5 separate regions of the Homo sapiens genome follow, and regions 2, 3, 4 and 5 are each linked to region 1. Evidence: promoter capture Hi-C in 16 types of primary human blood cells and fetal thymus (Javierre and others, 2016). All regions are on one chromosome and are shown on one strand. Each heading gives the region's core, a stretch centred on a gene start or on the middle of the fragment in contact. The rest is flanking DNA. Distances are from core to core; before and after follow the strand shown.

Region 1 (2,895 bases), core at 168-2,667:
ATGGTGAAACCCCGTCTTACTAAAAATACAAAAATTAGGCGGGCGTGGTGGCAGGCGCTTGTAATCCCAGCTATTCGGGAGGCTGAGGCAGGAGAATCGCTTGAACCGGGGAGGTGGAGGTTGCTGTGAGATCGCGCCACTGCACTCCAGCCTGGGCAACAGAGCGATATTCCTTCTCAAAAAAAAAAAATTTATTCAGTTAATGTATTTTATTTTTTGAGACAGAGTCTCGCTTTATTGCCTAGGCTGAAGTGCAGTGGCGCAATCACGGCTCACGCAGCCTCAACCTCCTGAGCCTAAGTGATCCTACCCACCTCAGCCTCCTGAGAAGCTGGGACCACAGGCTCGCGCCACCACATCCAGCTAATTTTTTGTAGAGACAGGGTCTCCCTGTGTTGCTCAGGCCAGTCTCGAACTCTGGGACTCAAGCGATCCACCTGCCTGGGGCTTCCCAAAGTGCTGGGATGCCTAAGTGCCAGGCATGATTTGCACTTCTACCACTTTTAGTTACTACTTTAGACAGTTCCACATCCTGACCATTTTGAACTTAAAGCATCCTGTGAGATGAAAACTGGAACCTTCTGACTTTGTCTATTATTCATCTCCTCAGTCTAAACCTGTAGCTTTTTTTAGATGCTAATGCCATACTGTCATGTGGAATTTCTAGCATTCTGTGAATGGAATCCATATTAATATACTTTAAGCACTTACACCACAGTTATCTTAAACTGTAGGCTATTTATTTGGATCTTACTTACATGTGTGAGAAAAGTAGAAAAAGAAGATGCCTCCTTTCCATGTTCACAAATCAGTAACAGCAGTAAAATGAAAGGAATTTACTTTCTCTAATGTCTCACTCCAAAGTTCCGAAAACCTCTTTTTAACATACAATGACTATTGTCCTGTGGACTTTTTTTTTTTGAGATAGAGTTTCACTCTTGTTGTCCAGGCTCAAGTGCAGTGGTGCAATCTCAGCTCCCTGCAACCTCCACCTCCCAGGTTCAAGCGATTCTCCTGCTTCAGCCTCCCGAGTAGCTGGGATTACAGGCGCCCGCTGCTACCATGCCCAGCTAATTTTTGTATTTTTAGTAGAGACAGGGTTTCATTCACTATGTTAGCCAGGCTGGTCTCAAACTCTTGACCTCAGGCGATCCACTCGCCTCAGCCTCCCAAAGTGCTGGGATTACAGGCATGAGCCACCGCGCCTGACCCCGATGAGCCATTTTGGACCCAGGGCTTTGTCTGTCAGGTGTGTTGGATGAAGCCCAGTTATATGCTTAAGTCTCTGGCTTCATCCTGTCATCCCAATTTGGAAGCCCATTAAGAAAGTGAGCTCTGTTTTGTTTTTAGTGATCACTACATTTTCCCCTAAACTCAGAGAAAGATCTATGAGCACGTAAAGCATCAAGGTTGTGGCTTTCAACAGTCTCTAGGGGGTTATTAAAGAGGAACTCTCTCTCTCTCTGAAAACCCACTTATTTTTCACTACGAAGGATAAAAGGGCCCTTTGTCATATATTGGGTCAAGGTCCAGAGTCTACACTTGGGTTTAAAGGATGCACTGCTGAGGATATGGTGTGTGCAGGGAAAAGGGAAGCCGCTTGCGTGGCAGTCGGGCGTAGAAGTGACTTTGTTGTATGTGGTATAACTTTTGAGCCCTGTCTCTACTAAGAGTCTGGACTTCGCATAAGTGCTTCACAGAAGGTCGACATCCCCCTTTTTGGGCAAGGGATTTCTGGTAGGCTGGGATGAGAGAAGTTGATTTCCAAACCAGAATTAATGAATGTCTCTACCGTACTTAGAAATACTATTTAAGCAAGGCTCTGAAGTTGCTTAACTTTTGTCTCTATTTGAAATTCTAGGGTGACAATGAAGAACAAGAAAAATTACTGAAGAAAAGCTGTACGTTATATGTTGGAAATCTTTCTTTTTACACAACTGAAGAACAAATCTATGAACTCTTCAGCAAAAGTGGTGACATAAAGAAAATCATTATGGGTCTGGATAAAATGAAGAAAACAGCATGTGGATTCTGTTTTGTGGAGTATCCTTCCCATGGATCTAATGTAGCTGCTGAACCAGGGTAGAGCTGAGAGTGGTAGCTCATAAGCGTCCCTGCACTCGTCCCTACGTTTTCCTTCATCTCCCTCCTACTTTCCACCCAGTGTGTCTCTGCCCTTATACTGTAAAGCTGATACTATTTATATTCTCTTCTGAAATCCATGCTTTATGGTTCTTTAACAAAAAGTTTTTCAAGAATGTTTGCCCTTCACGTAAAAAAAAAAAAATTCCAAAGAATGTAGTGAAAATATAAAAATCTCGTACTGTTCTAAACCCCTAATGCCCTTTGCCAGAGGCAGTCAGTTACCAGTTTCTTGGGCGTCTTTCAAGAAGTAACCCTGTGGGTGTGCGGTAGTGTATTTCATGTGCTGTTTTTAAAATCATTTTTTTATTTTTTATTGTTCCATTTCAGCATATGTAGGTCTTTTTTTAAAATAGCTGTACAGCTGGGCATGGTGGCTGGTGTTTGTAGTGCCAGCTGCTCAGGAAGCTGAGGCAGGAGGATCAGTTGAGCCCAAGATTTCAAGGCTGCACTGAGTTGTGACTGTGTTCCAGCGGGGGTGACGGGTTAAGACCCCATCTTTAAAGAAAAAAACTTTTAAGTAAATAGCTGTATAGTATTTCATTATATAGATGTATATAACCTGACTGTATAGGTACAAACCAAAACTATTTACTTTGATCATTTAATTCCCTTACTCAGACTCTTTTAAGTATTGGACCTCTTGGATTTATCCTATGTTCTTTTTACTGTATGTTTTGGTCATTCAATTTAATATTCTGAGAAATTTTGCAGGCCCAATTTAATATATCTTTTGAATTTTTTCCTGTGCCC
Region 2 (2,895 bases), core at 221-2,720, 410 kb after region 1:
ATTCTCCTGCCTTAGCCTCCCGAGGTAGCTGGGACTACAGGCACGCGCCACCACGCCCGGCTAATTTTTGTGTTTTTAGTAGAAAGAGGGTTTCACCATGTTGGCCAGGCTAGTCTTGAACTCCCGACCTCAGGTAATCTGCCTGCCTTGGCCTCCCAAAGTGCTGAGACTACAGGGGTGAGCCACGGCGCCTGGCCGCATATTTTGATTTTTAAAGCAATTATTTCTTCTCTTCTTGCTGGTGGGTGGGGCACCTTGGGTACGTAGTGTTATACTTTGGTCTAAGTATTTTGAGTTAAACTGCTTTTTTGCTAAAATGAATGGGCTGGTTTTTATCAGGTTTATTTTTCCTGCTGTTGTTACTAATGGCATTAACTTTTAGAGTCGGAAGCGGTAAGACTGATTTTTTAAAATATCCCAGAGATATGGCTTCTAATTGACCTAGAGATTTGTCGTAATTTAACTTTTTTCTCCTGCCCCTTTTCTTCAGTAAATCCAACAATAACCCAGGTGTGGTGGCTCATGTCTGTAATCCCAACACTTTGGGAGGCCAAGGCGGGTGAATCACTTGAGCCCAGGAATTGGAGACCAGCCAGGACAACATAGTAAGATGCCTGTCTGTACATAAAAATTAAAACAAAAAAAAATTAGCTGGGCGTGGTGGTGCATACCTGTAGTCCCAGCTACTTGGGAGGCTAAGGAAGGAGAATCACTTGAGCCCACGAGGTCGAGGCTGCAGTATGCCGTGATCATGCCACTGCACTCCAGCCTGGGCAACAGAGTGAGACCCTGTTTCTAAAAAAGAAAATGTTGGCCGGGTGCAGTGGCTCACGCCTGTAATCGCAGCACTTTGGGAGTCTGAAGACCAGCCTGGGCAACATGGTGAAACCTCATCTGTACAAAAAAAATTTTTAAGTCCATATAGGTTATTACCGCTAAATAAACGGAAGCAGGTGTTTTCTCTTGGACATACTGAAAATATTTAAAAGAAAGCTTAGATGGCAGCATGAGCATGAAGAACCAAGAAAGCATACTTGGAGTCAGTGCAAATGTTAGCTACCTTTCCTTTGCTTAATTCTAGTGCTCGAGTAAGAGCTATCAGCTCAGCTAATTGAGTGCTTGGACGGAGAGACACACTTTCAATGACGTCATTTAGAGTGACTACTGCATATCCTGCCTTATGGATTCCTTGTTCTACAAAAGAGCTCCCATCTGTGAAGAGGGTCCAGTGTGGGTTCTCTAGCGGTTTCCCTGAGATCTTCCCTGGCTGCATAGGTCTGTATCAGGACTTGTTCACAGTCATGTTCAGGTTCCCTAGTTTCCTTGGGGAGGAAAGTGGCTGGATTTAGGCGAGAACAATTTTTTTGTTTTTGGTTTTGTTTTTGTTTTTTTTGAGACGGAGTCTCACTCTGTCGCCAGGCTGGAGTGCAGTGGCACAATCTCAGCTCAATGCAACCTCCACCTCCTGGGTTCAAGTGATTTTCCTGCCTCAGCCTCCCGAGTAGCTGGGACTACAGGCATGCACCACCACCATGCCTGGCTAATTTTTATGTATTTAGTAGAGATGGGGTTTCACTATGTTGGCCAGGCTGATCTTGAACTCCTGACCTCATGATCCACCCACCTCGGCCCCCTAAAGTGCTGGGATTACAGGCGTGAGCCACTGCACAAGTTTTTAATTGGATGTTGGAACCCTCTAACAGCAGGGCCTGATAGTTAAGGAGTCGACTGTTTGTTAGCCAAAGGCTCCCCCTAGAGTACAGTAGTCCTGCCATGTTATGTGGGGTGTAAACAGTTAAATCATTTCCCAGGGTTAATTTGGGGGCTTCTGGGACCAGTAGGGCTACTGAGGCAATGGCTCAAAGGCATGCTGGCCATCCTTTAGCCACCAAATCAAGTTCCCTACTTAGGTAACCCACTGGCTGTTGAGCTGCTCGTCAAGCTTACGTTAAAACTCCCAGGGCCATTCCCTTCCTTTCTGATACGTACAGATGGAAAGTCTTCCCTACAGGAAGGCTGAGAGCTAGTGCCTTAAGCAAGGCTCGTTTTAGCTGGTCAAAGGCCTTTCAAGCTTCAGGTTCCCAGATTAAAAGATGAGTTTTAGGCCGGGCGTGGTGGCTCACGCCTGTAATCCCAGCATTTTGGGAGGTCGAGGTGGGCAGATCACGGGGTCAGGAGATCGAGACCATCCTGGCCAACATGGTGAAACCCCGTCTCTACTAAAAATACAAAAATTAGCTGGGCGTGGTGGCGCATGCCTGTAATCCCAGCTACTCGGAGGCTGAAGCAGGAGAATTGCTTGAACCCGGGAGGTGGAGGTTGCACCACTGCACTACAGCCTGGTGACAGAGCTAGACTCCATCTAAAAAAATAAAATAAAATAAAGATGAGTTTTAGCTCCCTGAGCTTCTTTTATGAGGTTATATAACAGGTGGACTATTTCACAATACCCAGGTATCCATAGTCTACAAAATCCTGTAATGTCCCCAAATCCTCTTAGTTGCTTGAGGTTTTAGGGAGAAGGGAGGAAGAAATAGGCTGAATCATTTCTTCCCCTAATGCTCCAGTTCCCTTGGACAGCACTAAACCCAGGTACTTCACCGAGGTTTTGCAAAGCTGGGCCTTGGGTTTTGAATCCTTATATCCTCTGTTAGCTAAGAAGTTAAGAAGAGCTTCAGTGCCTTCCTGAGGAGCTTCCTTAGTTGGGGCACAGAGCAGAGTATCATCAACGTACTGCAAGACCCTAATTTGAGGATGGGAACACTCAGAGACATCTTTTGACAGTGCCTGTCCAAACAGATGAGGCCTATCTCAAAATCCCTGAGGCAGCAACGTCCATGTTAACTGGGTGGTCTGGCTGGAGGGATCTTTGAAGGCAAACAGGTATTGAGAGTC
Region 3 (2,895 bases), core at 260-2,759, 380 kb after region 1:
CAATATCTGCTCCTCAGTGGCTTTTCGGCCTCAGAGGCCTCAGAGCCTGGTGTCATGTGGACTGGATATGCAGGTGATGCTTTTGCACAGAGTACTTGGGGAATTTCTAAGTGGGATTTGCTAACAGGATCAAATTATTGATCACACGAAATATCTTTGCTTTTTCTGTTTTCTACTAACATATCCATTTATGAACAATAAGCCTTATTTCTACATTTAATGCTAGTCTGATAAAACCTAATAGAATTTATTCACAAAGTAATCATTAATCCTTTACTTTTCCTTTCTCTATACTGTAAGATACTCCTAAAACCTGAAAATGCAAATATTTGATTGTAAACATCTGTTTAAACAAACAGTGAGTACTAAAGGCAGAGTTGGTCCACCCACTCTCTGTAAACTCTGTTTAAACAAAAAGTTAGAGGGGTCTGTTTTTACTTTAAAGTTCTGGGGTACATTAACTGAAATAGTGTGTATTGGTGATCAGGATCAGAGCACTGTATTCAATGCTGAGTTTTGAAAGGAGCATCACGGCTGGGCACGGTGGCTCACGCCTGTAATCCCAGCACTTTGGAAGGCCGAGGTGGGCAGATCACTTGAGGTCATCAAGACCAGCCTGGCCAACGTGGTGAAACCCTGTCTCTACTAGAAATACAAAAATTAGCCAGGCGTGGTGGTGGGCTCCTGCAATCCCAGCTACTTGGGAGGCTGAGGCAGCAGAATCGCTTGACCCAGGAGGTGGAGGTTGCAGTGAGCCGAGATCATGCCACTGCACTCCTGCCTAGGCAACAGAGTGAGACTCTGTCTCAAAAAAAAAAAAAGAAAAAAGAAAGGAGCATCACAAATTGCCCAAATACAGAGGAAGTCCATCAGGAGAGTAGATGTATCTAGAAACCCATTATGTAGAGAACTGGAGGTGTTTAATTCTTAGTTTTCATGAGGGGAAAAAATGGAATGTGCTGGTCTTCATAAGAGAAGTCATGGGAAAGCAGATTTGGGCTTAATGTAAACGTTTTCAAATAGCTTGAACGTTCCCATGGCAGGATGTGCTTCCTCTTGAGAGAGTAAATCTCATCACTGGAGTGAGTCGTCATGATTTCTGTCTGTTGAGCACTTAGTTCTTGCCAATGCTTTGTGTATATTAGTTTTAATTCTAATCACACCCTCCTAGTTATTTTTTTTAATAAATAAAGAAACTGAAATTCACATGAAGTATCTACATTGCCACCTGACTGAGATTCAAACCTCAATCTCTCTGGCTCCAAAGGCTATGTTTTTTCTCTAAGATGACAGGTATTCAAGCAGAGTATCATCAATAATGTCACAGAAAAGTTTCTTGGTTTGGGGTCAGGTGGCTTCTAGAGAGAGAACCATTGTGAATGACCGATGTGTCCAGCACTGTTCAGGCATTTAATCTCTGTTCTCAGTTACATACAGTATCTTCTAAGATTCCATGTTCTTTTTAATAGCATCAGTTATGACTTCCACCCTCTTGGCTAGTGGTCTTTACCTTTCCCTCCCCAACCCTGCATACCCCTCATAACTGAAGAATGATGAGACTGTTTTTGTTGTCACCATGCTGTTCCCCTCTCCTGCAAGCTACCAGTATTCAGTAGGCAGAATCAGTGGGTGTCCTGCAGTGCTGGGATAGTCTCCAAACAATAAAGAATTGTCTCCCCAAAAACATCTGTAGTGCCTGGGTTGAGACTCACTCTACATGTATGGGGCATAGTGACCCTACAACCTCTATCTTCCTTTTCCACTCCTAGGTTTTGACCAAGCCCTTTATAAATCTCCTACATTCTCCACCCTAGTGGTGATAATCTGCCCTTGTGGTTGTAAAGAAAGACCTATACAACCAGATGGATATGTTTTAAGTAGGCAGATTGTACAGTGTGTCTTTGAGTAGTCATTCTGTCATCCTTCAGCTGTACCACTTTTCCATCAGTGGTTCATTAACCACTAGGCATGGCAATAGACAATTGGGTACGCAAAAGTGATGTGTACTTTTCAGATTAGATGAGGAATGGGCATTCAGAATTTACTGTCTTGCCCCCAGTTCCAGGTAAGACGTTTTAGTGGCAGGCACTTGCTAGTGAACAGCCCTGGAAACAAGTATTTTGAAAAAGGGAGGCTCAGGTAATTTCTTATTTTGATTTGCCTGGTAAAATTGCTAAAGGTTCATGGTAGATTTGTTTCTACACTGGGTTGTGATGTAACAGCCATACAACCATGCTTTTAAGAAATGACTTCCTTAACTGAAGTTGAAACTCTATAATTATTTCCACAGTTGTCTTCCTAAAACCTGTTGATCCAGTATTATCCTAAACTTTAAGGATAGCCAGTCTATGGGGGAGCCCAAGAATGTAGGCACAGTAATAGTGGAAGGGAGTTCTGACTATTTTGAGTTACTTCTCTCTGAGCAAACAAATTTTATCTCAAGGCAGGAATTGAATGATTGCCATGTTCAGCATACCTATCTTTTTTCTTATGTAACAGTAATTATAAAGTTATGTCTTTTGACTTAGGTTTAAATAATTAGGCAGGGCCAGGTGTGGTAGCTTATGTGCCTGAGGGCTCATGCCTGGGATCCCAGCACTTTGGGAGGCCAAGGCAGGCAGATCACTTGAGCCCAGGAGTTCGAGACCAGCCTGGACAACATGGCAAAACCCTATCTCTACCGAAAATACGAAAATTAGCCAGGTGTGCTAGCATCCACCTGTGGTCCCAGCTACTTAGGAAGTTGACGTGGGAGGATCACCTGAGCCCAGGGAGGTGGAGGTTGTAGTGAGCCATGATCTCGCCACTGCACTCCAGCCTGGATGACAAAGTGAGACCCTGTCTCAAAAAAATAAAATAGGCAAAGCGCATTCAAAGAGGCAGGGACCCTAAAAG
Region 4 (2,895 bases), core at 203-2,702, 360 kb after region 1:
GTTCTTCTGCTTTAGTATGCCTGACTTGAGGTCATTACTGAGGCTGGAACTTTCACGCCACAGGTGGCTCTGAAATATGCAATCTATAGTTCTTTAAAGACTTCCAATTTCTTATCAGATTATTGTATATTACACCCTGTTAAGTCTGTAGTAATAAATACGGCTTTTACAAATAGGAACTATAATTTTAACTTGAGTCAAATGAGTATGCCTTAAGCCTAAGATGAAAAGAATAAAAAATACAGCAGTTTGCCTGAATTTGCCTGTCTCTGCAGAACTCACTGATGCCTCCAGGGGCTTTGAATCCACAAACATGTGCATGCACAGAGCTGTATTTACTGGGGTAAGGAGCCTAGAAAAAGATTTGGATGTGCCGTGATACAGGAAAGATGACCATCTAGAGCAGGGGTATTCAATCCTTTGGCTTCCCTGGGCCACACTGGAAGAATTGTTTTGGGCCACACATAAAATACACTAACACTAAAGATAGCTAATCAGCTTTAAAAAAAAAAATTGCAAAAAAATCTCATAATGTTTTAAGAAAGTTTATGAATTTGCATTGGGTCACAATCAAAGCCATCTTGGGCTGCATGCAGGCTGTGGGTTGGACAAGCTTGATATAGAGCATGAACTGGCAAACTACAGCCCCTGGACCAAATCTGTCCTGCAGCCCATAAATAAGGTCTATGGAATACAGCCATGTTCGTTCATTTACGTATTATCGATGACTGCTTTTGTACTATAAATAGAGTTGAAACTCGTGATAGATCCTTACCTTGAAAATGACATTAAAAAAAAAAAGTTGTGACAGAGACCATATGGACTGCAAAGACTTAAAGATTTACTACGTGGCCCTTACAAAAAGTTTGCCAACCCCTGATCTGGAGCAAAAATAGGCTGCTTAAAGTTGTATTAGGAAACAAATATTGAGATAGATCATTTATACATTTATTTAAAAATGGTCAAAAAATCTCCTTGAGGCTGGGCATGGTGGCTCACGCCTGTAATCCCAGCACTTTGGGAGGCCAAGGCAGGTGAATCACGAGGTTAGGAGTTCAAGACCAGCCTGGCCAAGATGGTGAAACCCTGTCTCTACTAAAAATACAAAAATTAGCCAGGCATGGTGGTGGGCGCCTGTAATCCCAACTACTGAGGCTGAGGCAGAGAATTGCTTGAACCTGGGAGGTGCAGGTTGCAGTGAGCCGAGTTGGCGCCACTGCACTCTAGCCTGGGCAACGGAGTGAGATTCTGTCTAAAAAAAAAAAAAGAATATTTTTCTGCATAGCCAAAATCAAAATATAACACCCAACAAAATTAACTATAACCCCCTAACATTAAAAAAAAAAAATCTCCTTGAAGTCTGGGTATCTGAAAAAATAAAAAAATAATAAAAATAAAAATTACCAAAAAGACAAAAACTGCTATATAAAAATTTGTAAATTTAAAACAAATTAAGGCGTGATTTGACAAAGGCCCATACTTGAGAAAAACCCCAGTTTCTCACCTGATATTTTGGTGCGTTGTTGCACTGTGGAAAACTGCCATTGACTTCTCCATTATGTAGTAGATTATTGTCCACCAGATTCCAGCCCCAGCTCTGGTCATCACTGCCCAGCAATGCCACATAACCTTGGCACTGCATGGGGGCCCGTTTTGTGGCAATTCCAATCACTGCCACAGTGCCCAGAGGGCCCTCCCACCACACTTCCCATGCATGGCGGCCCTCACTGAAACCAATCTTGGTCCTTGCACCATCAGTGCTCTGAGCAATGGGGTTTCGATGTAAAGTAAAGCCATTCTTCTTAATGTAGACATTCCTGGAGCAGTCATTAGTGCTGAAGGCATGTTGAAAAGCACGTATCTAAAAAGATGAAAAACAGACCAAATAAATAACAATTTTATTTTTCTTAAATATTAAAAATTACCCAAACTTCACGCTGTATGTTTTTAAATAACGAAGTTATATATTTTAAAATAACACAAGTATTTCCAAATAATGGCTGAAGTTTCAGGATGGAATACTAACAGAATAAATAACATTAAAAAATAAATGCCAACCGTTTCATCACTGACCAAAATTTTAAATTGTAGTATTTCCTCAAACAGACTTCTTAAAACATCAAAAGATACAAAAAAGAAAAATCCTTATATCTTACAGATAATACTGAAACGTTTATGGATAAAATAATGGTATCTGGGAATTGCTTTGAAATATCCAGAGATGGAGTGGGAGAGTGTGCAATAGAAACATGAAACTAGACTGGCCATAAATTAATCATTGGCAAAGCTTGGTGATGGGTATAAGGAAGTTCATCAAACTATTTTCTCTACTTTTGTTTATATTTGATATTTTTATACCAAAAAGTTGAGATGTACAGTTTTCATATGGGCAATGCTGTCATCAAAAAGAATTATATTTTACATAAAACAGAAACTTTAATCCTAGCAGCTCTAAAGTTTATGAAAAATTTTAGTAAACACAAACTACCTTAGATCCTCAGCCTACTTGCTGGATATGACTTACACAATAAAAAAATCACCAATCTCATTTTACCAAATCAAATAATCCCTTAGATAGCATCTAGGTTCAACTACTAGAATTTATGAAGAGAAGCTATCAATAAGACAAGTTAGTTGACTCTTCAGTAAATACAAAGGTTTACACTTCCAAAATAAAGAGGGTATGAAAATAGCTCTTCTATACAAACAATAACAATTTCTCATAAACAATTTTAAACTTTTAGTTTGTGTATTTTAAATTTTTTTTAGACAACGTCTCACTCTGTCACCCAGACTGCAGTGCAGTGGCACAATCGTAGCGCACTGCAGCCTTGAACTCCTTGGCTCAAGTGATACTCCCATCTCAGTCTTCCGAGTAGCTGGGGTTACAGGTTC
Region 5 (2,895 bases), core at 180-2,679, 340 kb after region 1:
GGACCCGTTTCCTGGAAGACCATTTTTTCATGGACTGGGGGTGGGGGATGGTTTGGGATGATTCAAGTGCATCACATTTATTGTGCACTTTATTTCTATTATTATTACGTTGTAAGATATAATGAAATAATTATACAACTCAGCATAATGTAGAATCAGTGGAGCCCTGCACTTGTTTTCCTGCAACTAGACGGTTCCATCTGGGGATGATGGGAAACACTGATGGATCATCAGGCATTAGATTCTCATAGGGAGCATGCAGCCTAGATCCCTCATATGCTCAGTTCACAATAGGGTTCACATAGCTATGAGTATCTAGTGCCGGCGCTGATCGGACAGGAGGCGGAGCTCAAGCAGTAATGCGAGTGATGGGGAGCGGCTGTCAATACAGATGAAGCTTCACTTGCTCACCCGCCTGCTGCTCCCCTCCTGCCGTGTGACGCAGTTTCCTAACAGGCTGTGCACCTGTGCTGGGGTTTGGGGACCTCTGCTGTACAGCAATTAAAAAAGAAGTAACAGTTCTATGTTTAGGAATGGATAAATCACAAGAACACGAAGTTGCAGGAGGACATAAACGGTTCGTGGCACACACGCATGTGTATATATCCTGTATATGGTTTAGAAATATGCAAAAAATGCTAAGCCTTCTTTATAGATCAATGGATATGTAGAAACATAACAAAGAAAACCTGGAATTGTATTAAAAAAATACAAACAAACAAAAAACCTTTTCCCAAACTAGGAGGAGGCTGAGAGACCAAAGAATGACTGAGACACGTCCAGCTTGGCAAGTAGATGAGTTTATTTGGACCTACATACAAGGCCTCCTGGGCAGTAGCAGGACAGCTTTAGAGACCTGCATTGCCTCCCATTTTCCCACTCTTTTTTTTTTTTTTTTGAGACGGAGTCTTGCTCTGTCTCCAGGCTGGAGTGCAGTGGCGTGATCTTGGCTCGCTGCAACCTCCGCCTCCTGGATTCAAGTGATTCTCCTGCCTCAGCCTTCTGAGTTGCTGGGACTACAGGCTCATGCCACCACGCCCAGCTAATTTTTGTATTTTTAGTAGAGATGGGGTTTCACCATGTTGGCCAGGCTGGTCTCGATCTCTTGACCTCGTGAACCACCCACCTTGACCTCCCAGAGTGCTGGGATTACAGGCATGAGCCGTGCCCGGCCACACTCTTGAGCTGCCTTTAAGCTAATTTTCTGGCTCTTTGCCCACTGTGTGAGTGATGGACTGTTTTTCTTGGTAGTTTCTTAGAAACCCTCCGGGACGCTTGGTTCTGAGGGACACCTGCTCCTCTGCTGGGCACTGTGGCCTTGGCTCATGGCCTGGCCTTCAGGGTTCAGGCAGCAGACACACACTCTTTAGTAACTTGGCTGGGGACCCATCACACTACAGAAAAGCATGAAAACAAACACAGCAATGACACGTGTCAAGTTCTGGAGAGAGAGGGAAAGGAGTCAAATCACAGGCATAGATGTATAAGAGGCTTCAACTGTATCTGTAATATTTCGTTTCTGAGAAAAAAATATCTGAAGCAAATTTGGCAAAAGGTTAAGATTTGCTAAAGCTGAACATTGAGCAGATGGGTGTTTGTTGTTATTCTCTTTACTCTTCTGCATATTTCTTTTTTTTTTTTTTTTTTTTTTTTGAGACAGAGTCTCTCTCAGTCACCCAGGCTGGAGTTCAGTGGCGCGATCTCGGCTCACTGCAAGCTCCGCCTCCCGGGTTCACCCCGTTCTCCTGCCTCAGCCTCCCTAGTAGCTGGGAGTACAGGCGCCCGCCACCACGCCCGGCTAATTTTTTTGTACTTTTAGTAGAGACGGGGTTTCACCGTGTTAGCCAGGATGGTCTCGATCTCCTGAGCTCGTGATCCGCCCACCTCGGCCTCCCAAAGTGCTGGGATTACAGGCGTGAGCACCGCGCCTGGTCTCTTCTGCATATTTCAAAGATGTCAGAATTGAAAAATAATAGTCACTGACTTAGCATGACAGAGAAACCTTCAAGCATAGATTTGCAAAGGGAGATACCTGTGGGAACCAAGCCACTAGAGTCACAGAATCTCAAGGAGGCAGCAAAACGGATTTAAAATTGGGCAGAATGTTGTGTGACAAAGCACGATCCACTGGGTGTTGTGTCTGTACATACACGGGACCTGGAAGGACACGGTCAACTGCAAACTGCTCGTGATTGTGGACGGCCTTGTTCTCTGCTTCTTGTGTTTTTCGGTTTCTTATAATGCACATATTAACTAAGAGTAATTAAATTATCCTAATTTCTATCACATTAATTTATATTAATTTAATTAATAAATTAATTAAAAATAAAGATTACTTTTAAAACCAGAAAAACATGGTTGGAAGAGAAAAACCAACCTTAAAATGTTTTTTGACATTTGGGACATAAACATTGCCTGAAATGAAAACATAAATAAATAAATGGAATATTGGGAAAGCTTGGTAAAAATTAAATTGCTATACATTCTACAAATTGCTAAAAGGAATAAAGTTTTGGCTAGGCGTGGTGGCTCACACCTGTAATCCTAGCACTTTGGGAGGCCGAGGCAGGGGGATCATGAGGTCAGGAGTTCGAGACCAGCCTGACCAACATGGTGAAACCTCGTCTCTCCTAAAAATAGAAAAATTAGCCAGGCTTGATGGTGCACGCCTATAATCCCAGCTACTCAGGAGGCTGAGGCACAAAAATCTTTTGAACCTGGGAGGCGGAGGTTAGAGTGAGCTGAGATCGTGCCACTGCACTCCAGCCTGGGTGACAGAGCGAGACTCTGTCTCAAAAAAAAAAGAAAAAAAAAAGTAATAAAGTTTTAGCGAGCAACATTGGTAAATTGCTATTAATAAATTTGTGCAGCCAGGCGCAGTGGCTCACACCTGTA

What was found. Contacts are between HindIII fragments. The CHiCAGO score rates a contact against its expected background, and 5 or more counts as called.
Region 2: a fragment that was not itself captured here is called in contact with the fragment with the promoter of NCBP2-AS1 in region 1 in 3 of 17 cell types (endothelial precursors, erythroblasts and megakaryocytes); the score reaches 6.7 in endothelial precursors.
Region 3: a fragment that was not itself captured here is called in contact with the fragment with the promoter of NCBP2-AS1 in region 1 in 5 of 17 cell types (M2 macrophages, neutrophils, naive CD4 T cells and 2 more); the score reaches 6.3 in M2 macrophages.
Region 4: a contact is called between a fragment that was not itself captured here and the fragment with the promoter of NCBP2-AS1 in region 1, in 5 of 17 cell types (neutrophils, naive CD4 T cells, M2 macrophages and 2 more). The highest score is 8.1, in neutrophils.
Region 5: a contact is called between a fragment that was not itself captured here and the fragment with the promoter of NCBP2-AS1 in region 1, in 9 of 17 cell types (fetal thymus, naive CD4 T cells, naive B cells and 6 more). The highest score is 10.3, in fetal thymus.

The regions. Positions count from the first base shown.
Region 1 is chr3:196,938,399-196,941,293 of GRCh38, reverse strand. NCBP2-AS1 (NCBP2 antisense RNA 1) reads right to left here and starts at 1,417. Exons shown (of 3, transcript NR_046630.1): 1 at 1,167-1,417; 2 at 152-320. It overlaps NCBP2 (nuclear cap binding protein subunit 2), which reads left to right. Exons shown (of 4, transcript NM_007362.5): 2 at 1,862-2,043. The HindIII fragment of the contact is 10,665 bases long and covers 1-2,895 here.
Region 2 is chr3:196,523,592-196,526,486 of GRCh38, reverse strand. No RefSeq gene overlaps it. Among named protein-coding and RNA genes, the nearest start is that of SMCO1, 9.7 kb to the right of the region's middle. The HindIII fragment of the contact is 949 bases long and covers 996-1,944 here.
Region 3 is chr3:196,558,174-196,561,068 of GRCh38, reverse strand. WDR53 (WD repeat domain 53) reads left to right here. Exons shown (of 4, transcript NM_182627.3): 3 at 1-73. Among named protein-coding and RNA genes, the nearest start is that of WDR53, 8.9 kb to the left of the region's middle. The HindIII fragment of the contact is 8,026 bases long and covers 1-2,895 here.
Region 4 is chr3:196,576,419-196,579,313 of GRCh38, reverse strand. FBXO45 (F-box protein 45) reads right to left here. Exons shown (of 3, transcript NM_001105573.2): 2 at 1,505-1,861. Among named protein-coding and RNA genes, the nearest start is that of FBXO45, 9.2 kb to the right of the region's middle. The HindIII fragment of the contact is 1,674 bases long and covers 616-2,289 here.
Region 5 is chr3:196,602,273-196,605,167 of GRCh38, reverse strand. No RefSeq gene overlaps it. Among named protein-coding and RNA genes, the nearest start is that of LINC01063, 29 kb to the left of the region's middle. The HindIII fragment of the contact is 2,060 bases long and covers 400-2,459 here.